7 separate regions of the Homo sapiens genome follow, and regions 1, 3, 4, 5, 6 and 7 are each linked to region 2. The links are contacts of gene promoters, found by promoter capture Hi-C in blood cells and fetal thymus (Javierre and others, 2016). All regions are on one chromosome and are shown on one strand. Each heading gives the region's core, a stretch centred on a gene start or on the middle of the fragment in contact. The rest is flanking DNA. Distances are from core to core; before and after follow the strand shown.

The links. Contacts are between HindIII fragments. The CHiCAGO score rates a contact against its expected background, and 5 or more counts as called.
Region 1: a fragment that was not itself captured here is called in contact with the fragment with the promoter of SERP2 in region 2 in 1 of 17 cell types (total CD4 T cells); the score reaches 5.1 in total CD4 T cells.
Region 3: a contact is called between a fragment that was not itself captured here and the fragment with the promoter of SERP2 in region 2, in 1 of 17 cell types (M2 macrophages). The highest score is 5.1, in M2 macrophages.
Region 4: a contact is called between a fragment that was not itself captured here and the fragment with the promoter of SERP2 in region 2, in 4 of 17 cell types (naive CD4 T cells, total B cells, naive B cells and 1 more). The highest score is 6.1, in naive CD4 T cells.
Region 5: a contact is called between a fragment that was not itself captured here and the fragment with the promoter of SERP2 in region 2, in 1 of 17 cell types (M1 macrophages). The highest score is 5.2, in M1 macrophages.
Region 6: a fragment that was not itself captured here is called in contact with the fragment with the promoter of SERP2 in region 2 in 7 of 17 cell types (M2 macrophages, M0 macrophages, M1 macrophages and 4 more); the score reaches 9.1 in M2 macrophages.
Region 7: a fragment that was not itself captured here is called in contact with the fragment with the promoter of SERP2 in region 2 in 2 of 17 cell types (naive CD8 T cells and naive CD4 T cells); the score reaches 5.2 in naive CD8 T cells.

What each region holds. Positions count from the first base shown.
Region 1 is chr13:44,012,716-44,016,345 of GRCh38, forward strand. LOC105370182 (a long non-coding RNA gene) reads right to left here and starts at 2,327. Exons shown (of 6, transcript XR_941918.3): 1 at 2,120-2,327; 2 at 547-635. The HindIII fragment of the contact is 1,522 bases long and covers 706-2,227 here.
Region 2 is chr13:44,371,913-44,375,835 of GRCh38, forward strand. SERP2 (stress associated endoplasmic reticulum protein family member 2) reads left to right here and starts at 1,912. Exons shown (of 3, transcript NM_001010897.3): 1 at 1,912-2,197. The coding sequence starts at 2,114. LOC105370297 (a long non-coding RNA gene) reads right to left here and starts at 1,654. Exons shown (of 2, transcript XR_001749858.3): 1 at 1,485-1,654; 2 at 1-1,285. The HindIII fragment of the contact is 1,852 bases long and covers 1,168-3,019 here.
Region 3 is chr13:43,899,977-43,903,745 of GRCh38, forward strand. No RefSeq gene overlaps it. Among named protein-coding and RNA genes, the nearest start is that of LACC1, 22 kb to the left of the region's middle. The HindIII fragment of the contact is 1,507 bases long and covers 696-2,202 here.
Region 4 is chr13:44,030,507-44,034,295 of GRCh38, forward strand. No RefSeq gene overlaps it. Among named protein-coding and RNA genes, the nearest start is that of NRAD1, 10 kb to the left of the region's middle. The HindIII fragment of the contact is 2,593 bases long and covers 39-2,631 here.
Region 5 is chr13:43,934,613-43,938,227 of GRCh38, forward strand. No RefSeq gene overlaps it. Among named protein-coding and RNA genes, the nearest start is that of LACC1, 57 kb to the left of the region's middle. The HindIII fragment of the contact is 1,644 bases long and covers 1,300-2,943 here.
Region 6 is chr13:43,916,864-43,920,608 of GRCh38, forward strand. No RefSeq gene overlaps it. Among named protein-coding and RNA genes, the nearest start is that of LACC1, 39 kb to the left of the region's middle. The HindIII fragment of the contact is 190 bases long and covers 1,783-1,972 here.
Region 7 is chr13:43,985,540-43,989,648 of GRCh38, forward strand. LOC105370182 (a long non-coding RNA gene) reads right to left here. Exons shown (of 6, transcript XR_941918.3): 5 at 1,162-1,288; 6 at 1,039-1,081. Among named protein-coding and RNA genes, the nearest start is that of NRAD1, 35 kb to the right of the region's middle. The HindIII fragment of the contact is 7,532 bases long and covers 1-4,109 here.

The DNA.
Region 1 (3,630 bases), core at 217-2,716, 360 kb before region 2:
CAAAAAATGTCAAGAAATGGAATCACGTGCACAAAAAAGTCATGTTTTTATGGCTTTTGACATATATTACCAAATTGTTTTCCCGGTAACTCAAATGCTTGATGATAACGAAGCTCTGAGAGAATGTAAGCCTTTGCCTTTGGTTGAACACATTTACATAACATGGTAAAATGGAAAGCCAGAAGAAATCATCTGACACACTTAGGGAAAAACCAGATTTGATTGTTTTTGCCCATATTTTGAATTTACTAAGTTATACAGTGCTGGCCTCCACATTTTCCACTTGTGAAAATGTATTAAGATAAATTAAATTGCTTCAGACATGCAGCTGAATTTCTCTGGTTCCCAGACTGTGGTTATTCCCTTGACTGGTCAGCCTGGGGTGAAAAGCACTTCCTGGCAGTCAGCAGGTGTGTTGTGCTGGAATCTAGAAACATGACAACCAACAAGAGGAAGGCTTTATCTACCAGATTAAACAAAAGGCATGGTGGATGCATAAGGGGTAGCAGTAAACATAACCTCAAGGAGAGGGGCTGAAGGACCTACCTCCTGCCTAGTACCCCACAGGGCTCTGAGCCTGGTCCCTTCCGGGTTGTAGTCTCTGATCCCCAGATTCTAGGATCTTGCTGAATGGCCTGAGGACAAAAGACATTTTCCAGAGGCTTCCCCTAAGAAGGTTTGCCAAATTTCTGGGAATACGTACAAAGCTTGAGCCACAGAAAGCCTGAGTGATCCGTGAATATAAACACATCAGTAGTGAAGTCCAGCTTTACGTTTTTGAAAAAAGCCCCTTTTAAAAATGTCTTGGTTTTCAAAATAGTACGTTTCCCAAATTATATTTATAGAGTAGCATCAAACAAGAAAGCTCTTTGATAAAACCCTGCCTATTTCTGGAAGGGTGGAGATGGGAAGATGTGGATGGGAGTAATGTTTGTTCACAGGCCGTTAGCTGCTGAGCTTTGATCATTCTGCAGAAAAGAGGTAAGATCGTTATGCCACCAATCCGTACCCTCAAACTGAACCTTGTTAATAAGTCTTGTCTCATCCACTCCATTAATGATCAGCAAATGACTAGAACTCTGGCCAAAAGGCCTAGACATCAGGATGAATGTCAAATAACAGCTGACACTGCCAACTAAAAATAGCACTTTGGATTTAAATGGGTGACTCAGACTTGATTTCCTATGCTTGCCTGGGATAATACGGTACAGAGCAGGGTTGTTTTATGTTTTTCTTTTTTCCTTTCATGTGAAAGGAGGGTTTTATTGCAATCGTCTGGGCAGTGAGCTCAGAGTCAGCTCTGTGGGAGTTGAGTGCACCCAAACTTCTACCTCCGAGGCCCTGGGGGCACCTGGCACTGTCGGCTTCCTAAGCACATCTGTGCACTTGACCTTGCAGTCCAGGTCAGCAAAGAATGAGAGATGGCTTAGGAAGTTATGTCAAAATTTAACACCATTTCCAGAAACTTCTCCCTTTGTGTTCTTCCCATCATTCTCCTTCACACAATGGAACCAATTAAAAGGCTAACCAGTTAATTGCAAATGACACAAGCTACATAACCCAGGACACCTCTTGAAAGAGATGGCAAACTGGAAAACCAAATGTATCTTTCCAGAATATGCCCATATATATAATGAATATTAAAATGTTGACCAAATTGACCAGATAAATATTTAAATAAGGTCTATAATGGAACATTACATCTGTCGCTCATTTGAGTTAAATACATTTTCACTGAGTTAGTTAATTAATATTTGCTAATCAGATTGGTCAATGAGGTTTTCCTAGTTTCAAACAGTGACAGAATATGTCAGGCCAACCAAAGATGTTTCAACTATGCATTCCCAAGGTTTTTGCCCCATCAAATGCATACCCCTGGAATCTAGATAAGTCTCTATTTACATACAAGCGTCTCCTCCCCTTGTACATTTTCCCACCCTACAGCCCGTTGCCAGATCCCGTTATACTCAGGGAATATCCTGTCTGCCTAGGCTCCCTTCCTGGCTATTAGAAGTCAAAGCCCTTCGCGTGACAGTAAGAACGGAGCCTGAAAACGATTCTGCAAGTCTGGTTTCTACAGGGATCACGGGCCAATAATACCTGTCCAGAACTCACTTACCAGTTCCAAGTGGGTCAGCACAGCAAGAGGACATCAAATTGTGAAACCTACTAGTTATGGAGCTAGGCAGAACTGAGGTTATGATGAGGTTCAGAGTTTAGACAATGAAGCTTTGAGGAAAATTCCCATAGCTGGGAATTCATAGCAGCTTTACTGTACTTCTTAAACCTCAGACTTAGATGTGGGAGGAGCACCTGGAGTTGATACAAAGTAGATGCAGCAGCCAGTGGCACTCAAATTCAGAGTCAGAGCTCCCAACAAAATTCAGTTAAGAAATCACAACCTAGTCAATTCTCAGCCTGTAGGCTAAAATCAAGTGTGAGAAAATCGCAGCCCATAGACCCTAGCCCAAATAAACTGGACTCTTTCCACAACTATGCTGGCCTTTTGCAGTAAGCCTAAGTGCTTTAAGGATGTATCTGTTCTGGATCTCACTGTTAGGCTGTGGTCAGACAGGCTGGTGAGCTGGGAAAAGCCTTTGTGAGGCCCGGAAACTCTTTGGTGGCTGGGAGCAACTTGGGAAGGGGGAAATCCCCTCTGGCCTTATCTGTCCAAGCCCTGCTTTCTTCTCTCCTCTATCTTCCACTCCTTTCTTCTCTCCACGAGTGCCTCAGAACCATCAAACCCTCTAGTGCCTTAGCCCTGATGTTAGGACGCTGTTGGGGCCTTGGGCGTGGCTGCTGAGTGCCCAGTCTCTGGAAGTGAGTCGTCCATTTGTTGGGATGGACAGGGACCCTGCACAGGGACCCTGTGGTTGATACTGTCTTGTTCCAGTGCTGGTTTTGAATCTTGGCCAACAGAACACAGAGCTCGTGCCACATGCAGTGAGCATAGCCCCTCCTTGGAGCCTGCCTACCTTTTCCCAAAGGAAGAAGAGTGGACAGTTTTGCAAACAGGAAAGGAGAATTTATGTGCTTCAGGAAGGGCAGTGCCTCTAAGAGGGAGAAATAACACTTGTTAAGAGGGAGAAGCTGTGTCTAACTGTGTCTTTCTTGGTTTGCCTAAATGTAGGCCATTCAGTGGCTTCTCAGGAGAGAGATAGGAGCGAGGGAGGGAGAGAACGGGAGAGATATGCAGGGAAGGAGATTAACCTGGCATCTTGTTATTGCAAAAGAAGTGCCACAGGAAATAACAATGTCTGGAGAAAGAGTAAATAAAGTGCCCTTGTGGCGCAAGAAGGAATGGGATGAGGGATGGACTTCCTATTGAAAACTGGACTTTGGCAGTGGAAGCTGGTTGTGAGTTACTCAGACTTGTAACTAATGAAATCTTTCATTAGGTTGGAGGGTGGATGGGTTACTTTCGATAAATTATTTCCAGGGATTTTGCTCGTTCCTCGAATTCCTTCCTGAATGGATCTGGGATAAAATGCTGAATCAAAGTGTCAGGCAGGAGCTGCAGCACGGCAATCCAAATGATAAACAAGGGTAAGGGAAGGCCCAGCAAACGGCAGGATCTGAAGTTTCTGGCACCAAAAGAAAAGCTTACAACCCAGGTCCTACCTTGGAATT
Region 2 (3,923 bases), core at 662-3,161:
TATCCTATTTCTGTTTGACTATTTACTGTGTAGATGTAGTCTACTCATAATTAAAACAAACTAATTTAAAATGCCGGAAAAGTGAAGCATAGCAGGAAAAAGGAGTCAACAGTAAAGAAAAATTTTCCCCAAAAGGGGCTTCTCTCAGTTAAGAACACTTCTGAACTGTACTCACTGAATGTGAAGACCCAAAGAGAAAACAGTCTCTGTCTGTGTCTTTTCCTTAATGTCGCTCAGAGCCAGACCTCTACTCACCTGGTGAGGACCTGGGTCAGTCTCCTGGTATTTGGACATGATCTGAGAGGAGTGAGTCAGGTAAAGGAACCTTCTGGACCACAGACAACAGCCAGGCTCAGCAGGGATCACTGAGGTAGGAATCCCCCCACCCAAACCCCTAAAAAAGAGCCAACAGTTATTAAAAACATGGGACTAGAGTGGGGCAGACTGGGTTTATGGTCCTGTTACAACAGTGGTGATGCTAACAGTTAAAAGACCATAGAAGCTTGTTTCAAATTAATTGGCCTGTAGAGTAGGAAAAAAAAAAAATGACTCTACTAATGATCCTAGGCAATTCTGTCTTCTAGGTTACAGCAAGCAGCCCCCAGAATGGCCTTTATTGAAGCCTGAGTGACAAGAAGCCTGTAGCGGGGTGAGGGGGACCCGCTTGGAAAAAGGCCCCAAAAGAGGAGCTCTTCCTAACTCTCCAATGACATGGGAAAATTTTACTCACACAAAATTCCCTGGAAACCCAGCCACCTCCCGCTCCAAGAGAAGGCCTAGAGATGCAGTGGCCAGAGACAGCCTCAGGCCTTCTTCCCCATGCTGGGGGTGCTGCTGCTTGCCTTCACCCCGACCCGGTATCCCCACTTCCCGCTGCCCCAGATCTCCCAGGCTGAATGTCCCCTCTTCGCCTCCACTCTTCTGAGCTTCTAAGAGCTAACTCCAAGTGAGGAACTGAACCCCTTCCACCCCTACCTCCCCAGGCAATCTGTAGAGCTCTTGAGCCCTAATACCAGTGTCTGGGAGGCGCGTAAACGCTTCCATTTTTATCCTTCCACTGCAGAAAATGCCCAGTTTAGTCTGGGAGACACTCAGACCCCTCGGGACAAGGGTGGCTAGAGAGAGGTCCAAGCTGCCCTGGGTGGGTGGGGAGTCAAGGCAGGCCAAAGCTTCAGATTTAGACAGTAACCACCAAATCCGACCTGGGCTGCAGGTCCAAGGCCTCTTCCTCTTTCCTGCATGCTCCGCTCTGCCGCTGGCCCATCTTCCAATGCAACCCCTACAACTACCAAAGCAAAAAGGCCTGTCCCAACTCCATCCTCACGGCCCGATCCCCAACCCTCAGGGGATGCCGCTTCGTGTCTCCTCTTTATTTTACAACGCGGCCCTCCTTGCAGCCCTCACGAAAAGTTCTGCAGTGGGGTCCCCCAGCGTGGGGCCCTTCTCGAGACCCTTAAAGAGAAGGCTCGTTTGGTGGACCATACCCGGGCAGCGCGGGCCCGGGCCTGGACTGGTTCTACTTGTGTTCTGAGGTCCCTGACCACCGCCTTGGGTCCAGCCCTCGTCCAGGGGGCGGCGGTGCAGGGGAGACCGCGCGGCCCGGCCTGAAGCGCGGCCGCCCTCATCCCTTCCCCGGGGCTGGGGTGGGTCACCGGCCGACAAACACAGGAGGGGCCGCGTCCCCGTCCCCGACGCGCTCACAAACGCCGTGGTCGCCCGAACCTTCGGCCCCGCAGCATTCGGCTACAGGACCGCGACACTGCAGGGCCCCGGCTCTGCGCGCTGCGCTCCGGCCGCTCGGCGCGGGAGGACGTGCGGTCGCGCCTGCCTCGGTGGCCGCGCGGGGTAGGTGGCTGCGGGGACCGGAAGGATGGCGAGGAAGTCGGAAAGGGTTTCCTGAGATGAGAGATTACTTCCGTCCGGGCTGCGGCCTCTCTCTGGAGTCGGCTAGCCGGGGCTCGGGGAGCGGGGTGCGCAGGGCTCGGGGCCACGCCTTGCCACCTGCAGCGCCCGGGTGGGCCGCGGGGGCCTCGGCGGGACGCGCTCGGCCCTGTCGCAGGAGCTAACGCAGGGGGAATCCTTGCAGGTGGGAGCATTTCAGAGCGCACAAGCCATGGTGGCCAAACAGCGGATCCGGATGGCTAACGAGAAGCACAGCAAAAACATCACCCAGAGGGGGAACGTAGCCAAAACCCTGGTAAGGCGGGGTCGGCGCCGGCCAGGCAGAGCCCTGCAGCCCGGCGGGGTGGGGCGGAAGGTGGGGGCGGGGCCGGGCGGGTAGCGGCGCAGGGTCCGGCCTCCCGGCTCCCGGCCCGCCCCTTCTGCGGGGTCCTGCAGAGTGGGGGCTGAGAGCTGGGTTCAGGGCGGCGCGGTCTGCTTGGCGTCCTCGTGGGCGGAGAGGGCCCTGGTTGGTCGTGGCCCCTCTGGGAGTGGCTACCTGGGCTACCAGGGAGGCGCAGAGGAGCCCTCCTCCCCGACCCGCACCCCCTGTCCCCCTGCCCGGGAGACAGCTGGGCCTTGTCCCGGAGAAAGACGGAAAGCCTCATCCTTAGGGGCCAGTTAAGTCAACTGCATGACACAGAGCCTGGAACCTAGTATGTTCTAGAACGTTGCATGACACAGAGCCTGGAACCTAGTATGTTCTAGAACGTTTGTTGAATGAATGAATGAATCAATGGCTAAATGGAGGCCACTTGTCATCTCCTCCCGGACTCCACCTGTCTTCCCTCCCCAACAGACTTGCACCAGGATCAAGTTTTCTTTCCAGCCCCTTTGTGACGGTTTCACTGGAGGTGTGGAAAGAGCTCAAAATGGGGAGTGAGATTTGGACCCACATTCCCTCCAGCCTCTTTTTTCTCTTTTACCTCTCTTCCAGCGAGACCTCCCTCAGCCCCTAGGCTAAAGTCTAAGGGCAGCATTCCTATTCTTTCCACTTGGTGAATTCAGACTCATTCTCATGGTATAACTTTAGAGACCAGTTTATTGTCAGGCATTCGGTGTCCCTAGAACTGTAAATTCAAGCTTTGCAACTGGACTTTTAAGTAAAACCTGTGCCTTACACTCAGGAGTTTCTTTTAGCAAAGCAGATTATCATCAACAGAAAATGCGAGGCCTGTGACTTTGGACATTCAGAGGCATGAGTCGCATGGGTAGTTTGGCGAAGTTGGTCTCCAAGTATATGAGCAAAGGCGCCTGGGATCTGTTACCCCGTACAGTTAAGTGGAAATCCAGCTGAAGCCTGGAGTTTGGCTGGGAAAGCTTGCAGATTTGATGAATCAATTCCTTTTAGCCAAAGAAACTATATTGGTTTGATTAACTAAGCAAAAAGCTAGATCTGTAATCATCACACCAGAATTCTTGCAAAACCAAGCAGTATTACGGCAGAGAAACTCTAGGACCAAACTCAACTCTACTCAGAGCTTTATACACAAGTCTAAGCATAACTCAACTCTACTCAGAGCTTTATACACAAGACCTAAGTAATCCTTAAAATTCTCTCATTTAGGAATTATATCACTCAGTTGTGATTAGGCAGCAAAATGCCAAGATGCCATCAAATTGGAACCATTTTGTCACATTGATTTATGTTTTCCCTATTTTTACTGAGGAAAAAAAAATGGCTGCCCGGGTTGACATTGAGAAGCAACTTATAATTGATGTTAAGGCATGCAGGGTTTTATATCCCTAAGAGATCAATTCTTCCTTCTCAAGGGATCAGACCTGCTAACTGACACAGTGAAAAATAACTAGTCATGTGGCTCTTTTTCATGAACTAAAAAACCGGAGTTCAGTTGTCAGATCTCAGTTGACAGCTTATCTGATTACAAAAGTAAGAAGAAAACAAGAACTAATTTCTAAGGCTGTTGTATCTATTAGGTTCTGTAGACTCAGTGTCTGCCACCTCAAGTTCTTCAAGAAAACTA
Region 3 (3,769 bases), core at 199-2,698, 470 kb before region 2:
ATAAGCTAGTTTTCTACAGTGCTGTAGGGTGACTATAACAATTTATTGTATATTTTCAAATAGCTTGACAAGCAGATTTTAAACGTTTCCAACACGAAGACCTTATAAATGTTTGAGGTATTGAATATGCTAATTACCCTGATTTGGTCATTACACATTGTACACATGTATCAAAATATCATACTGTGCCCCATACAAAGGTATTATGTGTCAATTAAAAATAATAAAAGCAAAAAAATTTTAAAAAGAAAAAATACTGCTTGAAGATACATGTCTCCTGTGGGAATCATGTATGTTAAAAGCTAATATTTATTTTTAAAAGCTAATTCTTTCCACTCCTGTAATAATATATGTTTAGTATTTATCTTATAGCATACCCTATCCATGCCTTTAGTGAAACAAATGCAAACTATTTAATCAATGCTCTATGACAGTTACCCAGAGAGTGAAGACCAAACGTAGATCTTTTCCACAAAAATTCCAACTTTTCTATAGTTTTGTTGATATTTGATAGTAAAATAGTCAAATGGTTTTTTGTGTTTTTTTTTTCTCTCAGTAGTCTCTATTTTTAGAGTAGTTCTCAACCTTGGCTATATAATAGAATCACCTGTTAAGCTTTAGGAACCCTGATGTCTAAGCCACATGCCAGACCAATTAAATCAGAATCTGGGGTAGGACAACATCAAGGCTTTTAAAGCTTCCTGAAGGATTCTAATGTATAACCAATTTTGAGGACCCCTTCTCACTAGGTACTTTTATATCTTCAATGTTTAGTTGCATTTATTAAAATAATATATATTTAAAGTGCTGCAGGCTGGGTGCAGTGGCTTACACCTGTAATCCCAGCACTTTGGGAGGACGAGATGGACGGATCACCTGAGGTCTAGAGTTCGACACCAGTCTGGCCAACATGGCGATACCCCATCTCTACTAAAAATACAAAAATTAGCCCAGCACGGTGGCGTGCCTGTAGCCCCAGTTATTCGGGAGGCTGAGGCACGAGAATCACTTGAACGCAGGAGGCGGAGGTTGCTGTGAGCCCAGATCGCGCCACTGCACTCCAGCCTGGACGACAGAGTGAGACCCTGTCTCCAAATAATAAAATAGTAATAATAAAAGTACTACAAATAAAGAATGCTTGCAGTGGAGATCTGTTTTAAAGCATTCAGCCATGTTTCTTTACCCATCTTTAGACATTTGTTTCACCTGTGGTAAACTTTAGACTATTATTAAGTCTAACCTGATTTAAATTTAGAGCTTCTCACCTCCCCAGCTTAGACCAGACAAGCACTGGGGCATAAAGCATGATTTGTTCTCTATTTTCCCAACTGTGATCATCTTTTTCACCTACTAATGCCAGGGTGTTGATAGCGAGGGAGGATGAGAAATAGGTTGTGTTAGGGGGCCACCTCTGCAACTCGCCTCCTCGCCACTACCACACACCCATTCAAACAAAGTGCTCTCCAGCGGACCATTTACCGCACCCATCCAGCTTTGATGGTACACTCTACATAGCCTCTTCCTATTTTACAAAGACCGTTGTAGCCTACCTATGCTCCCTTAAACCCACAGGAAACTTGACATTTTTGCCCCATCAAATTCTAGATGTCCAAACGATTCCCAATATAGCCTTGTTTCTTTGCTATCCAGGCAGCTCCAGGCACTGACCAGCCTCCTTTTTTTCAGACTGAAGCAGAGGAGAGTGAGGCAAAGGTCACAGTGTATTCAACTCCCAAACTTAGGGGACCATAGGTCGAATTTAACTTAAACGATCTGCTTTGGTTCCCTGCAGCACCTGGCTCTGATGTAGGGAGATGGGGCTTTTTTTTTTTTTTTCAGGAGTAAAGGGAAATGCACAAGACTATGATAATGCTCTTTAAAAAATTCTCAGCTGGGCGCGATGGCTCAAGCCTGTATTCCCAGCACTTTGGGAGGCCAAGGCAGGTGGATTGCCTGAGCTCAGGAGTTCGAGACCAGCCTGAGCAACATGGTGAAACCCTGTCTCTACTAAAATACAAACTAGCTGGGCGTGGTGACAGGCACCTGTAGTTCCAGCTATTCTGGAGGCTGGGGCAGGAGAATCACTTGAACCTGAGAGGCAGAGGTTGCAGTGAGCCGAGATCACGCCACTGCACTCCAGCCTGGGCGACAGAGCGAGACTTGTCTCAAAAAAAAAAAAAAATTGATCAATTTCCCTTCTGAAGCTTTAGTCTCTGCAAGAATATGGGGTTACCGCTCTTAGCTTTGGCCTCTTTTTAATTTTATTTTATTTTTATTTTTTATTTTTTATTTATTTATTTGAGACAGAGTCTCTCTCTGTCACCCAGGCTGGAGTGCAGTGGCGCGATCTCCACACACTGCAAGCTCCGCCTCCCGGGTTCGCGCCATTCTCCTGCCTTAGTCTCCCGAGTAGCTGGGACCACAGGCACCCGCCACCACGCCCGGCTAATTTTTTGTATTTTTAGTAGAGACGGGGTTTCACCGTGTTAGCCAGGATGTTCTCGATCTCCTGACCTCGTGATCCGCCCACCTCGGCCTATCAAAGTGCTGGGATTACAGGCGTGAGCCACCGCGCCCGGCCAGCTTTGGCCTCTTAACAAAGACTGCACAACAGGAAAAATCTCATGTTATGTTTTGTTACAGCTTTATGGGAAATCACATTTCTAGGAAGGAAGGAAAATTCAATAAAATGAGAGTCAATGAATAATTCCTTGACATGATTTCATCAGTGTAGCAACCATTGTTGCTTCTCAATCTGCTGGAATAGGAAGCACACAGAAACACCTTGAAATATTCCTTCCACAAATGTTGAGTCTGAATCTAATCAAGCTCTAGAGCTAACCACATGTTTATAAAAAATTTGGAGGAGGAAGGAGTAAGTTAAAGGATACCACAATTCAAAGTGTGGGACAATTGGTCTAATTTTTGCAAATGGTCAATGGTAAAAATTGAAAGAAAGAATGAGAGGGGGACTATTAGATTAAAAGAGATTTATGAGACATGGCAATCACAAGCAATGAGTGGACCTAGTTTGGAGTTTCATTAGAATAAGCCAACTCTAAAGACAGGTGTTTTTAGATAATTGTGGAAATTTAAATAAAGGATAAGTATTAAATGATACTAAAGAATTATTGTTAATCTTGTTAGATGTTAATGACATTGAAGTTATGTTAGAAATATCCATGTCAATACATATTGAACTATGTAGGGATAAACTAATGTGTTATCTGAGAGAGGCCACTAAATTCTTTAATAATAATAAAAAAGGCATGGATGACACAAATGTGGCGAAAGTCTTTAATTGTTGAATCTGAGTGATGAGCATCTGGAGCTTCATTATACTGTTTTCCATACTTTTCTGTATGTTTGTAACTTGGTCATAATTTTTAAAAAATTAAACATAATAATATCTAAAGTAATATCTCTGTTTTTGAAAAAGTAAATATACATGTCAGTTTTCTTTGTTAAAGCAGAAGACAAACATTGTCAATCCCCTACTCTTCTATGTGCATGAGTTGGAGGAGAAAACAAAAGCCTGTGACTGTTGGATTCTTATTTGAACAAAGAATATGAAGCCTAGGCAATATAGCGAGACCCCAACTTTACCACAAAAAAAAAAAAAAAAAGCCTAGCATGGTGGCACATGCCTGTAGTCCCAGCTACTTGAGAGGCTGAGCTGGGAGGATTGCTTCAGTTCAGGAGGTCGAGGCTGTAGTGAGCCATGATTGCACCACTGCACTCCAGCCTGGGAACAGAGTGAGATGCTGCA
Region 4 (3,789 bases), core at 85-2,584, 340 kb before region 2:
CCAAATTCAGCTAGAGTGGAGTCTTGGCTCAAGTACCAAGCTTGGATTTCCCCAAGGAACACTTTCCCATAATTCATAATGAAAATCTTTCCATTTACTGTGGTTCAACTATTTGCAGAATTTTCAGGCTGGGCTCAGTGGCCCTAAATTTATGCATGCTGGTATACTGAGAAGATCACCATGTTACAGAGGCTCTTCTCTCCCAGTTTACTCCTGGAGTCTATTTAATTTGCAGCTCTAACTCTGCGTTCCCAGGATTGCATCAGTTGGACTTTCCTCACATCTCAGCAGCCGCAGTTGGGTTGAAATGAGATACTCCCATCTCTGGTCACTGTGCTCTGGCCCTCCAGGACATTCCTCTCACCCGCTGCCCACAGCATAGCTGCTGAGAGTCCTCTGCCCAGGAGTCCCAAGTGAGAGGACAGTCTTGACTCTGCCTGCCCCCCTTTAGTGACATCCTTCAGGGATTCCTCAGTTCATTCATTTCCTAGGGCTGCTGAAACAAGTTACCCCAAACTGCGCAGCTTAAAACAATACAAATATTATGCTTTCAAAGTCTGAGAGTCAAGAAGTTGAAACTCATGGTGTTGCCAGGACCATGCTCCCTCTGAAGGAAGGAGAAGAGTCCTTCCTTGCCTCTTCCTAGATTCTGGTGGCTCCTGGCATTGTGGCTGTATCTCTCCAGTCCCTGCCTCTGTCATCACACGGCCATCTTTCTTCTTTTTTTTGAGATGGAGTCTTGCTCTGTGGCCCAGGCTGGAGTGCAGTGGCGCGATCTCAGCTCACTGCAACTTTCGCCTCCCGGGCTCAAGCGATTCTCCTGCCTCAGCCTCCTGAGTAGCTGGGATTACAGGCGCGCGCCACCAGGACCTGCTAAATTTTTGTATTTTTAGTAGAGACGGGGTTTCACCATGTTGGTCAGGCTGGTCTCGAACACCTGACCTCGTGATCCATCTGCCTCAGCCTCCCAAAGTGCTGGGATTACAGGCGTGAGCCACTGCGCCCAGCCGTCTCTTTCTTCTTATAAGAACACCAGTCATTGGGTTTAGGGTCCATCCTAATCCAGTATGACCTCATCCTAACCTAACTAATTATATCTACAAAGACCCTATTTTCAAATAAGGTAGCAATCTGAGGGTTCCAGGTGGACATGAATTGAGTGAGGAGGGGAGGGGCACTTTTTAACCCAGTATACTCAGGGACCTTGCTGACCCTGCCTCTCTGCTCACACACACCATACAGGGTCACCTGGTGGTGACTGCTAAAAGTAACAAGCTACCATTTGTCTTGGATTCCAAACCAATTCAGAAGAACCCTGGGAGCCGCATGACTATGAAGAACTATTTCTCACCATGGAAATTACAGCAGAACATTCACTGGGATCGTTGTTTGTTATGAAACAGGTACTAGACTTAACTGGCTTTGAAGGGTAGAACATATTTTAGAATATCTGTTATATGGTTCATTAGACTTTGTTTTTATTTTTATTTATTTATTTATTGAGACAGAGTCTCACTTTGTCACCCAGGCTGGAGTGCAGTGGTGTAATCTCGGCTCACTGCACCCTCTCCTCACAGGTTCAAGCAATTCTCTTGTCTCAGCCTCCCAAGTAGCTGGGACTACAGGTGCCTGCCACACCTGGCTAATTTTTGTATTTTTAGTAGAGACAGTGTTTGGCCATGTTAGCCAGCCTGGTCTTGAACTCCTGACCTCAGGTGATCCACCTACCTAGCTAGGCCTCCCGAAGTGCTGGGATTACAGGTGTGAGCCACCATGCCTGGCCTCATTAGGCTTTAAAGCAATAATTAAAAAAATAAATACCCTGAAGATGTTGAAAATAAGGCATAAAGTTGGTGTGGCAGTCAAAGAAGAACACATCAGCTTAAAAAATGATAGAAATAGCTCTTTGAAAATTGCCCTTACAGGCCGGGTGTGGTGGCTCACACCTGTAATCCCAGCACTTTGGAAGGCTGAGGCAGGCGGATCACCTGAGGTCAGGAGTTTGAGACCATCCTGGCCAACATGGTGAAACCCCGTCTCTACTAAAAATATAAAAATTAGCCAGGCACAGTGGCGGGCACCTGTAATCCCAACTACTGGGGAGGCTGAGGCAGGAGAATCGCTTGAACCCAGGAGGCAGAGGTCGCAGTGAGACTCCGTCTCAAAAAAATAAAAAAATAAAAATTAAAAAAAATTAAAAAATAAAAATTGCCTTTACAGAAAAAGATACTGAATTGTACATTGTGCTTACCAAAATCCAGCTCTAAGAGTCCATCGTGTACCTGATATTTTTTCCAAGTTGAAAATGAATCAGGGGGTTGAAGTCACTTGAAAGAAAAAATTTTTTGAAAAAAACTCTGTTACGTCTAAATTGTAGCAACTCCTCCTACCCTCATATACAATGCCAGCTGAGCTTCTGACAAGCTGCTCAATATATATCTAAAGTCAGAATCGAGATTTTGTACTATGATATATGGCTGAGTTATAGTGAAGAGAGAGCAGGGAGACTTTGCTCATTATCCTGCATTAGTCAGACTAGATTTACAGCTCAAAAGAACAGTCACGGTAACTGAAGTGCAGACCAGGAACTTGAACTGATGAAAATCACTTCTATTTAAATGAACACTAAGAAGCTTGCTGCATATAGTTGTTATAATAGCCTTAAGAAGATCACTTTGCCAAATGTTTCCATCCAAAAAGAAATAAGCCAGACTAGAAACAATCTGGAAAACTCTACTTTTTCTGTATTTCCTTTTCCCATGAGGATGGGAGAGCTCAGGATGTGGAGAGGAGCTGACAGAACTCATCTGTGTCTGAATCTAGAGAATTGCAAAGAGGTGGAAGAGGCAGGTATTGCTAACAAGGCAGAGGGCATGAAAAATTTCAAGGCAATTTTTAAATTGTATGGGCGCTTGGATTATTTGAGCATGCCTAGCAGGTTATGTTAATGCCTTAAACAATGTTTGTCAGGAAGCACCATAGCAGTTAAGTTACCAGCATGGACCTGAGAACCAGACAGACTTGTGAATGAGTCTCTCTTTTGGCTCCATGAGTAAAGAAGTTAATTTTCCTACATTTCATCACGTCTAAGTCGGTGCTTATAAGAGTACCTATTACATAGACTTGTTAAAAGGCTTCAATCAGATAACACATGCAAAATGAATGGCAAATAATAAGTGTTCAATAAAACTTAGCAATTAACTAGAAACCTTTTACTGATTTATTTGATTTTTGCCTTTGGAACATATAAAGACTACTTTCTAATGACTTAGCTAATGCAAAGACAATATAAAAATCTACCTCTTCAGAGATGCACTGTAAGAAGGACTTGACCTGTTGTTCCTGACATTGAAGATGGATGGAGACACCAGGAACCAAGGAATGAGGATGGCTTCTGGAAGGTGGAAAAAGCAAGGAAACATTCTCCCCCAGACCCTCCAGAAAGGAACTCAGCCCTGCTGACATCTTTGTTTTTCTTTTCTCTTTTGAGTAGAGATGAGGTCTCCCTATGTTGTGGAGGCTGGTCTCGAACTCCTGGGCTCAAGTGATCATCCTGCTTCGACCTCCCAAAGTGCTGGGATTACAGGTGTGAGCCACAGCACCTGGCCTCCTATGGACATCTTAATTTTAGTCCAGTGAGATTCATATTTGAATTTCTGACCTACAGAACCACAAGGCAATAACTTTGTGTTGTTTTAAGATGCTGAATTTTTGGTTTTTTGTTACGGCAGCCCAAGAAAAGAAATATAGCATTGTATTACATCAAAAAAAATGTCTACCTTTTCAGTG
Region 5 (3,615 bases), core at 872-3,371, 440 kb before region 2:
CACCATTACAAAAATAATTTAATAGCTTTCCACCCTTATACCCTGAAAACAGATTGATTTAACACTATTTAGAGGGTTCTGGTGTGGCTAGAGGAGCACAGGCCCCTCTCAGAATTCAATGTTAGTCATATCTTTGGTAAGAACTATCTATCTATCTATCTAACTATCTATCTATCTTTGATAGAGCCCTTTTCCTTCTTTGTGTTGTTCATCTTTTTTTCTCATAAGTATCCCATTCCTGATGGCCAACACATGACAGAATAGTAGTAAATGAATAACTTTCTATGTGTTAGGACACAACACCTTACTCTGTCCTATATTATGTTTCTCTTTGTGCTTGAATTATCTACCCAATTAGAATGTAAACTGTGCCTTAAATTTGTATGTTCCCCCCTGCATCTTTAAATATGGAATTATGGAATTCTTACTAAAGATTATATTTATCTGTAGTAATAATTCCATATATAAATTAAACTAAATTGAATTTAGGCAACAGGAAAACAGACCCAACAAATCCACCCTGAAATATTTTAGTAATCTATCAATCAAAGGGATTAAAAGAGATTTTAAAAACCCCATGAACATGGAACCTCAGTATAATCTGGCATACACAAAAGTAGTTTCTGAAATGTGGCAAATCGCCAGTCCTGGCAAATTGGGAAGGTAGTATGCCAATTACAGAGTGAGAAGTTGAATAGCACCATGGAGAATTAGGAGCAATAACACAGGATGAATGCCTTCGTCCTGATTTAGCCTCAGGTGGTCCTCACCAGAATCTGACAGGCAGATACCCTGGGATTCAGGGAATATTATAATCCCAGGGAATTCAGTCCATTGTTAATGTTGGTCAGGAATCATATACAGTATGAGTTAAGAAATACCAGAATTCATAAAGTAAGAATGTTTCTGCCTCTTTGTGGGCACCTGAAAATTGAATTGTCTGCCAACAGGAAGGGAAGCAGCAAGCAGATTCCTCAAGAGAAGGGGAGAGGCTTTGGTTCTCTTTACTTGCACACTTTTCTATAGGTAGTAAAACTATCAGCATCAGTCCCTTAGTCTTAACTGCAAAGTATCCCAGAGTATCAACTAGGGAGCTGTTGATCTGCAAATCCTCCATCTTCTCCCAGACTTTCTGCATTTGAAGGCCCCCCAAGGGTCAGCATCTTGTTTGAAGCTTAAAATAATTGCTTATCTTTATAGAGGCAGAGAGGGGTCTGAGGGAGAGAATAATGAAATAAAGACTAGTGGAAGCAGAAAAAGAAGGAAGTGTTTTGGATGGGGAAGGGAGAGAGAGCTTGAAGCTTAGGAACAAATTGACCAGTTTGGAGGGTAACCTTTTTCTCAAAAATCCAATTGAAAGTGTTCACAAGTCTGTACATCTAACCGTGTTGGCTGGTTTGCAGCAGCAGAGATGATGACAAGACTGTGTGACTCCTGGATGGAGGAAAGACATTCTTGTGGTGTGTCCCAAGAGACCTTCTGCCTTCCAGCTGACAAATCATCTGTGCTTCAAAAAAATTTCTGCTTCCAATCAAGACTGAAACTGAGAAATTTTCCTGACAAGAGTGGAAGTTGTAGCATGCACAGCCTGTTAGATTTGCTTCCTTTGTTTGGTGAGAAATAAAATCACACTCCACCAACAAATTGGAATGCCTAGGATATTCTCTGTCTCTTTCTCACTCCCTCACACATACACCTGCCTCCCCTTTGCCCCACGTGCATGCATACATGTGCACACATCTACCTTACTACTTTAGAGCCAGGTCTAATAGTGATAGACATAATCTCTGTCTGTCTATCATCTATCTATCTATCTATCTATCTATCTATCTATCTATCTATCAATCATCTATCTATCTATCTATCTATCTATCATCTATCTATCCATTCCTGTCACTGTCTCTGTCTCTGTCTCTTTCCAATAGTTCCTAGATTATGGCTAAATTTCCCCCCACATTTGGTAGGACAAAGACTTTTTACCATTAAGGATTTTTTTTTTTAATGTCCCTGCTACCAGTCATAAAGGAAATACCAAAAGGTCATTCCAAACAATTTTTTGGACAGAGGTTTACTGCTGAAATAGATGAAATAACTGATAATTTATCACAATAGCTAATTTGAAGGGGATAACTGGCACCTGGAAGTACAGAGCTGCTGTGTTGGTAAAAACAAAAGCAGCCGCCTTACTTTGTAATTATAGCTGATGTTAGAGGTTTTCTTTTTCTATTGTGGAGTTGTTGCCAAGGCAATAGCTTGGCACTCTTCTACACAAATGCTTTTCACATTAATCTACACAGGCTTCACAGATGTTAATTTTTGTAACACACCTATGCATTCCAGAAGAGCAAAATATATTTTTTAAAATCTGTTTTATATGGTAGGAAAAGAGCATTAGAAAACGTTTTTCTGGCCTCCTCTCTCGCTTCCAGGACACACTCACAGTGACCGTCATGGATTTTGAAATGGCCTCCAGACCTTAGCCCAGGACTGTGGGGAAAAGAGGGCAGGAAACCCAAAGAGAATCCACACGACAAACCAGATCAAGGACATGGCTAACGGTCAGAGTTGGAAGTTCTGCTGCTGAGACAAGGTGGAAGCCAGGAGGCAGAAACTCAAGAGGAACTAAAGCCAAATGTCACAGTTAGCAAAAATCAGGGCTAAAGCACAAGACAAGAACCAAAGGAGCGATCACTGTTGAGCAAAACAGTCTAGTGTCAGCATTCAGACACTGCCCTCGATGCAATTTCTGAACACTCTTGGGGCAGCAATGCTTCTTTAACCCCAACTTGAGGCAGCTCATGTAGAAAGCATCCACTATTGCTGGGCTTTGGGAGTGTGATTAATCTTGGAGGCAAGGTGAACTGTTAAAATTTTCACCCATCTTACACTGTGAAGAGACAGAATAAAGAAAGCCCTTCATACTTGTTGGTTCTGGAGTCATAAAGCTTACCAAAGTAGTAACATTGAGGCAGGGACTGGACCAGGGTGGGTGAGTGAGGTGCCTCAAGTACAAAACTTCAGGAGGCATTTACTCTTCAGGTCATATGAATGTGGGGCCACTGAGGCTCAGAGAGGGGAGGGGCCCCTTCACACCCCAGGCAGGGCAGCTCTGGACCTGACATCTGGTGCTCGGTGTCTCATTGATGTTAGGCCATGAGTTCATTTTGAATCAGAGTCTGTGGCGCTCATGGTGTTTCTTGAAAAAGAAAAACAACATTATTAATATTTAGCTACTCCCTGGCATTTTCTAATGTAGGATGGATACAAATAAACGCCCAAACTGGTGAAATAAAAAAATTTTGGTTAACACTATAGTAAAGACTTTTTTTTTCATATTCTTTTGCTGGCCAGGAAGTTCTAAATACCTTCCCAAGAGTATTTGCTGCAAAAAGAACAGAGAGGAAATAAATTATTGTGTGACTCCAGCAAACACTTGCCAAATGAATAGACAATGAATTAGAATTGGCAAAAGGGAGAATGGAACTCACATGAACTCAGTATCCTTTATTTTAGTTTCATTTAGTGGTTAAAGTCATACATTTGTTTTATTTTATGTACAATTTTTACATCTTTTTACAAAGGCTTTAAAAGGTATCTATATTAAGTGCCCACAAA
Region 6 (3,745 bases), core at 628-3,127, 460 kb before region 2:
GTTTTAATAAGCTACACCACAATTATGTTGTCTAGCAAACCACCCAAAACTGTGGTGTAGAGTAATGAGTATTTCTGGCTGACACATCTAAAAGTCAATTGAGGTTTGGCTGACCCAGCTTGGCTTTGGGAGGGCTTGGCACCAAATGTCTCTCATCCTCCTTGGACTACTTGCTGCACAAGACATGCTCTTCTCGTGGTGAAAGGCAGGAGTTCAAGAGAGCAAGCCCGGTTATGCAAGCTCAGTTCAAGCCTCTGCTCAGGTCATGGTCACTAGCATCCTATTAGCCAAAGCAAGGCATATGGGCAAGACTAAATTCCAGGGGTTAGGGAATATACTTTTCTCATCAAAGAGGAGGATAAAGGTGAATATTTGCAGAACAATTCTAATCTACCATACTACCTGAATTTAAAAATGGAATTTTTGTTTTTACAAAAATATTATTCAGTATGTTGTCAAAGGGCTGCACTAGTACAAATAGTTGATTCAACACAATTTCACAAATATTCATTGAATGTTTTTTATTTGTTGGGCACTATGTTAATTATCCAAAATTTAGGAATGGATAAGACATAGTCTCTGCCTTCAAGAATCTCACAGAAGGAACTGTAAACAAAATTTGATGTGATGAATGCAACAAAAGCCTTTACAATTCTCTGAGGTTGGTGTTGTGGCCATTTTACACAGAAGAAACTGATACTCAGAAAGATTAAATGATTTGTCCAATATTATACAACAGATAAAACTGAAATTCAAATTTCAGTTCAAATTTGGGAGTGGGAACTAAAACCTTAAACTCTTCCTATCATTCCACATAACCTTCCCCTGAAAGTGAGCACAGAGGTGATCCAGTCTAATACCTCACTTGATACTGGGCTCTTGGTATCTGTAAGGTGACATAATGCCAACATCTTGGTCAATTGACCCCAGGATAACAGATTTAGAATGAATTACATATGCTTTCCCCTGCTCCATAATTCTACTCTTCTTACTTTGGTTAGATTTACTTAGAGTGCCCATCAAACTAATCTTGATAATAATATTAAGCAGTAAGTCAGATTTGCATACCTCTTTTGGGCTAAGAGAGATCTTAGATGCTGGAGGATGCTTTAGTCAGGCTGCATATTTTTAAAATATGTGAGTCACAGGCAATAACTCTTTAGTGGATAGAACTTTTGTTAATATAAACGATTCTGATGACAAAGGTATAAACTGAACAGACCATTTTGTCCTTCATTTCTGAGAAGTAAAATGTCTGTGGTCAGTAATCAGGTATCCTGAGGGCTAGTGTGTAAGTATAATTATGACTTTCAGCTCTATTAGCCACTGTGAAGCTATTACTGTAATGTTTTATTTTAATATTTTCTTAATGTGTATCATAACAGTTTCAATATAAAATGGCTCTTCATATTTGTGCAGAAGAATTTTCATGAGTTTGAAGAATATTCGCCATAACCCTATTGAGGCAAATTATAGGTACCATATTATTGTTTCCATGTTAAGAAAGAGAAACTGGAGAGAGAAAGAAAATATGCGCTTAACTTTGGTAAAGTACCAAGTCACTGGAAAAGTCAAAGATAGGACTGGAGTCTAGTTATTACTAGCCTGGATAGTAGACTTTTGATTCTTGAAACAAAACTTTTAGGGAAGTATTAAGGGCACAAAAATAAACTCAACCTCTAAGGCTTAATTTTGTGTGGCTTGTCAGAAAAAGATTGAATCATCACATTTAATGCTGGGGCAAGAAACCAGGATAATTATGAATATTAGAAAGGGCTCAGAAGCTTGTTGAATCACAATATTTCTGTGCCATCATTTTATACTGAAGGATATTTATGTTCCGTTTATTTTTTGCAGTGAGTTTCACGTTGGTTGTTTGGGGTTGATTTCAGTACGCTCCAGTTATGGTTAGGGCAATACTAAATGACAGTGTTTTGTTACTTGAGTTCTCCCTCTTCTTTCACAACTCCCAAGCTTGTCAGTACTTGAAGGATTGCTTCCATGGACGCTCAGTATTGAAAGTGTGTCTCAGTATTGAGAGTTTCTTTCTCAAATAATCCCAGTCAAAGCTGCATACCTTGCTTCCCTTTCCTGAGGCCTGAGCACTGGAACGGGGCTGGACTGGGCCCATTCTTCAGGTAGCTTGCAATATTAAATGTGTTAGAAAATACTTTCAATAGACCTCCACAGAATCAGGAAAATAATGACAAGAAAAATACATACATCATTCCTAATTTTAGGTCTAGATACTCAGAGAATAACTGCCTTATTTAAAGTGGGCAAATACCCTTAGAGAGCTTTAGGGGCTGTTTCCACCTGTGTGCTTCTGAGGCAGAAACAGATTCTCAGATGTTTATCTTCTGAAAGGAAATTTGTTTACACAAAAGGGAGGTGAGGAGATGGCATGATATTTTAGAATGACTTGTCTATGAACCTATATGAGCAGACCACGGGCATAAGAAACTAGATCTATTGGAAATTAATATACTTTCTTTTTAATTTTTTTGTCTTATTTCTAAAGAGACAAATGGATGGAAAAACTTTTTGGCCCTCTTCCTTAGGATCAGAAGGTAAGCATCTTCTCATCATGGGATGGATTATTTGGAAACAAGTCCATTAAAGAGAGCAATTTGAGATGGGAATACTCAACCTATTTTCATGCCAATAATGGATCCTTCCTCATTGCTGTGTTTAAAAATTTCCTCAGCCTGCTTGGAAGGGCTGGAATTTATCAATTTAAGCATTTCCGTGACATCAGTTTTGTATTTCTCCATCTGAATTTCACAAATGCTTTTAGCTAGAAGGTATTTTTTCAGAATATTTAAAAAAGGTCAGAATAGCAAAAGTTTACAAGATCATTTTCTGTTTTTTTTTTCCTTTTGGTAAAATGAAACTGCTTCAATAGTCAATTGCCAAATGATCTATTCTAATTAAATAATTGTTTTCTTAATTATTTCCATGGCTTGCAGGGTTATGGTTTTTTAAAAAATTAAGTCCTATAGAAAACTCATGTAACTTGCACTGAAATTTTTTGCAAATCATTCCTTTCTCCTTTAAAAATCCTTTCATGTTTCTCTCCTGTAGAGATTGAATTACTTGTGTATCCTTTTTGTTTTAAGGCAGACTGTTCAATTTCTTTCAGTTTGTTGATTCAGTCATCACTTCTATTATAAGTATAATTCAACTAAACTTATTATTACGGGTTTTTTTTTTTATTCTTTCCTCTCTTTATTTTGGGAAATTGAATCAATATGCTAATGAATTTCTTTTCTGTGAGGGAGCCTTATTGTTCCTGTAATGAAGGTTCCTATTTATTTGGACATCTCTAGATACAATTTAATTGTTTTTTTGGTGGTTGAACTTTTTTCCTTTGGATAAACACCTATTCTGTGCCTTTCCCTTTCTGTACTTTTCTTTTTTCATGGTTCAGATGGTATTGTTCAACTATCTTAAGGAGAATTCAAACATTGCTCAGGTGAGATTCAGGTTTTTTGGTCCCATAATAGGGAAAGCAAAAATGATTATTAGATGAAGTGCATGCAAATGAAAACCAGAAGTTGAGATGGATGGAGCTGATTTTATTTCTAAGCGACTTCAGAATGCCAGTATCAGGGCTAGAACCCAAATGTATTCCCTCTGATTTCAGATCCTAGATTTGTTTATTGGCTGTGTTGTCTCACTGGTCCATTGGCCAGGTTTGTTTTCTTCTGAGGGAGAACAGTAGCTGGAAACAAATAGAAACTAG
Region 7 (4,109 bases), core at 27-2,526, 390 kb before region 2:
CCATCTGTGTAACAAGGGCATACACACCACTGTGACGAGATGATGTGTGTAAAAGTGCTTTGTAAATCACTGGAGATTGAGGCACTGTTTGGGAAAACAATTACCCCTTTCACCTGGATAATTAGGACTGTGTATTTAGCTAATAGACAGGAATTATAAATGTTTGCTGTTTGACCTTGCATTTGAGTGTCATTTTTATCATCTGCAACTCGATAGCTAAATTCCTAGTAAATGAAGCATTTATTATAAAAAGTGCTGACACAGTACTAAATCTGGACCACTTTTCCTTGTGATAGCCTGATGATTAAAGGCCAGAATGTCCAATTCTGTGCTGTCTCATAGCAAATGTACTATAGGCAGTGTTCTTCCGCTGTTAATCCGTGTCCCCAGGTTGCCTCTGACCTTGACCCAGGAGGCCTGTTGACTCCATGCTCATTTATACTCATTTTGTCTCTAGAAACACTGATCCAGACAGCTCTTTCTGAGTTTATTTTACTTGCTCCGGTCCTGCTAGACTCTTAAGGATTTCAGGCACCAGAACAGCTGTGTTTAACCTTGTCCATTAAGTCCTTACCCAAGAAACCCGTCTGAATTGGTGATGTTTCTGAAAACACAAATGAGGCCAAATTACAAGTGGAGGAAGCATCTGGGTTAAAATAAACTGTCACCAGACAAAAGCTATCTCCTTCCATTTTCTTTTTTTGTAAGAAAAACAGGTTACTAGCTATAATCTTATTCTTAGGTAAAATGTGCTGTTCTAGTCTTTTTAAAAGCACTTGCCTCAGAATTTCTACTCAGCAATAAGAAGAGGGGGCAGACCCCGTTATCTGCTTGTAGTAATAAAGATCCACATTTATCTTCTGCAGTTCTGGCTTTGGTATTCTTACTTTGAACTGGAATAGCACAGGAAAAGTGGATTGAGGACCGCACAATTGGAGCATGACTTGTGTTGCCTGGTTACTGAGACTCTCCAGAGATTAGATTGTCAGGGTACTTAGATGCACAGAAAAGCAAACAAACAAACCTCCTACCTTCCTGGTAATTCTTTTATGAGGACAGGGCAGCTTCTAAAATTGGAAACCTAGATTAGGGGAGAAAATAGTTTCTATTAGCAGAAGAGGATGAATAGTAATTATCTTCAACGCTGTCAGGTGGCCTCACCATTTGTGAGTCATGGTCAGTGGGAAGTGGCCACACTCAGTATGAAGGGTTTCATGTTGCTTTAATTCTGGGGACCCTCAGATGATGCTGCACAGGCCTGCTGATCTTCAGAAGCTGCTCTACGCATCTGCAATAAAAGAGAAGACCTTCTAAGTCACTCACTGGTTTTGAAAGAAGTAACATAGAAGCAGGCTTTTAAGTATCCCTAAGGAGGGCACTATAGGATTTGTATTGGAAATGGATCTGAAGACTTAGGAGAGACTAGAAGATTAGAAATGCAGAGAGGTCAATTTGCTTCCACCAGCTAGTTTATAACTAAGTGTTGGCCACATTATCTGCTTTTAGCTCTGTGTCTTCATTGCCCTTCTCAGTGTTCTTTTTCCCTAGGTCACAGAACGTTTTCCTGAATCGGATTCTGGGTTAAAGCTGCCAGTAGGAAGAATTCACATGAGATTTCAAAGGTGGAAGAGAAGGAGAAGGTGTTTTTTTCTTGCAACAGTTTGGCTGGGGAGCTGAGATCTTCACTGAGGGCTTCCTTTGGCTCCGGGTTCCCGTGGACAGGCAGCCGATGTCATCAGTGGTGGCTTCTCTGTGATCACTATACCACCAGGTCTCCTAAAGTGGCCTTCTTGACCTTTGCCTCCCCAGCTCTTTCAATGGTTATGTGAAACTCTAATTATGTACATTAAATATCTTTCAGCTCATAATACATAGAGTCATTTCCCTCCCCACATATGGAGTAATTCTGAATGACATAAAGGCTTAAGCACGAAGGCCCAAAACCTTGGTCACCTATGTTGATAAATCTGAATTTTGATTAGCGCCAAATTATAGACCAATATATGTCTTACAGACGTTAAAAAACATATGGTATAATTTCATTTTTATAAAGTTCAAAAGCAAACTAATTTGTGATTTTAGAAGTAATGATGAGTGTTTATGTTTGGAAAAGGCTGAGCAGGGTGGGGACTTGATGGGCCATGAGAGAGGCTTGAGATGCTAGTAATACTTGATTTCTTCATCAAGGTTGTGCTTAGATGGTTGAGTTCTTTTTGTGATAATTCATTAAGCGAGATCATCATAATATGCCATTTTTCTTTCTTTTTTTTTTTTTTGAGATGGAGTTTCACTCTTGTTGCCCAGGCTGGAGTGTAATGGCACGATCTCGGCTCACTGCAACCTTCACCTCCCAGATTCAAGCAATTCTCCTGCCTCAGCCTCCCAAGTAGCTGGGATTACAGGAATGTGCCACCACACTAGGCTAATTTTGTATTTTTAGTAGAGACAGTGTTTTTCCATGTTGGTCAGGCTGGTCTCAAACTCCCGACTTCAGGTGATCTGCCCACCTCAGCCTCCCGAAGTGCTTGGATTACAGGTGTGAGCCACCGTGCCTGGCCAATATGCCACTTTTCTTTATATATATGTTAAAATTTAATAGAAAATTAATTTTAAAAAATTTAAGGCTGCTAGGAAATTTCATTTTCCTTGTGCCAATCCTAAAATGACAATTTAATTATTGAATCCAATCTTACTCTTTGACAGATGATACAACTGAGACAGCAAGAGACTAAGTAACCTGCTCAATGTCAACCTTCAAGCCCAGTTTTCCATCCATTTATAACCTGGTTTAATGTGAGAATTTTAAAAATCAATTTTCCTAGTTATCTTTTTTCCCCATTTTTTTTTCTATTTATAGTCAAATGGAAACAAACTTTGCATAAAAATAGATGGGAAGATTGACTCCAAGCTAATTTGTCATCTCAGGCATTACTTAAGAAATGTCAAAGTCTCTAGTGAAAAGATTTATGAGTAATATCGGTAAAGAATGTGCCAAACTTGCCAAGGTATTTAGCATTTAGGAGTAGGAAGCAGAAGAGCTGCTTCAGCAGTGATTTGGATGTGACTGTAAATCAAGCAAAAAAAGCCACATGTTGTAAAATGTCACCAAGAAAGGTAAGTTGGGTATTGCTTAAAAACTCACACCAGTTTTGTCCATTTGTCCATTTCCCACAGCTTCTGCTGCCATTGAGCCACCTAGGTAGTCATCCCTGAATTCCTCAGGCCTAAGAGGCCCATCAGCTTAGCATTACTTTGCCTGCTGTTCTTCCCCAGAGAATATGGGCTGACTGGTAAATGCCCCTCAAGTGAACCCTATGTTCCAGGGAGTTCCACCAAAGGAGGGCTACTTCCCCGGAGAGCTGAGGATTTTATAGTTAACAAAGGACAAGAAGGTTCTTTCTGCAGAGTGCTTCTCCCGGCTCCCCCCGGCCCCACCACCAGGGCCCAAATCTTAATATATTTTACGACATTCTAGGTCCATTACAACACACACATGCTTGTAGTCTTTTAACCCATTACTTTCTTTTTTTTTCTTTTTGTTTTTGAGATGGAGTCTTGCTCTGTCGCCCAGGCTGGAGTGCAGTGGCGCGATCTCGGCTCACTGCAACTTCCACCTCCTGGGCTCAAGTGATTCTCCTGTCTCAGCCTCCCAAGTAGTTGGGATTACAGGCGCCCACCACCATGCCCAGCTAATTTTTTTTTGTATTTTAGTAGAGATGGGGTTTCACCATATTGCCCAGGCTGGTCTCAAACTCCTGAGCTCAGGCAATCCACCCGCCTTGGCCTCCCAAAGTGCTAGGATTACAGGTGTGAGCCACCCCACCTGGCCAACCCATTACTTTCAAAAGTCAGCAATAGTGTGTGCTTTTGGCTTTTGCCTTTGCTTTCTCTGAACTTGCATCCAGCACAATTCAGAAAAGACAACTTTTCGCAATCTATTTTTTCGGTATACATGTGTTAAAATTTCACTATATGCCTGTCAGTGGGCTAAGTGCTGAGGACACATAATGAATAACAAACAGTCTCTGTCCCCAAGAAGTTCATGACTGGTTGCAGAACAGTCACACAAAATAATAGTTTAGCTTCAGGAATAAATTTTGGTGCCGCTA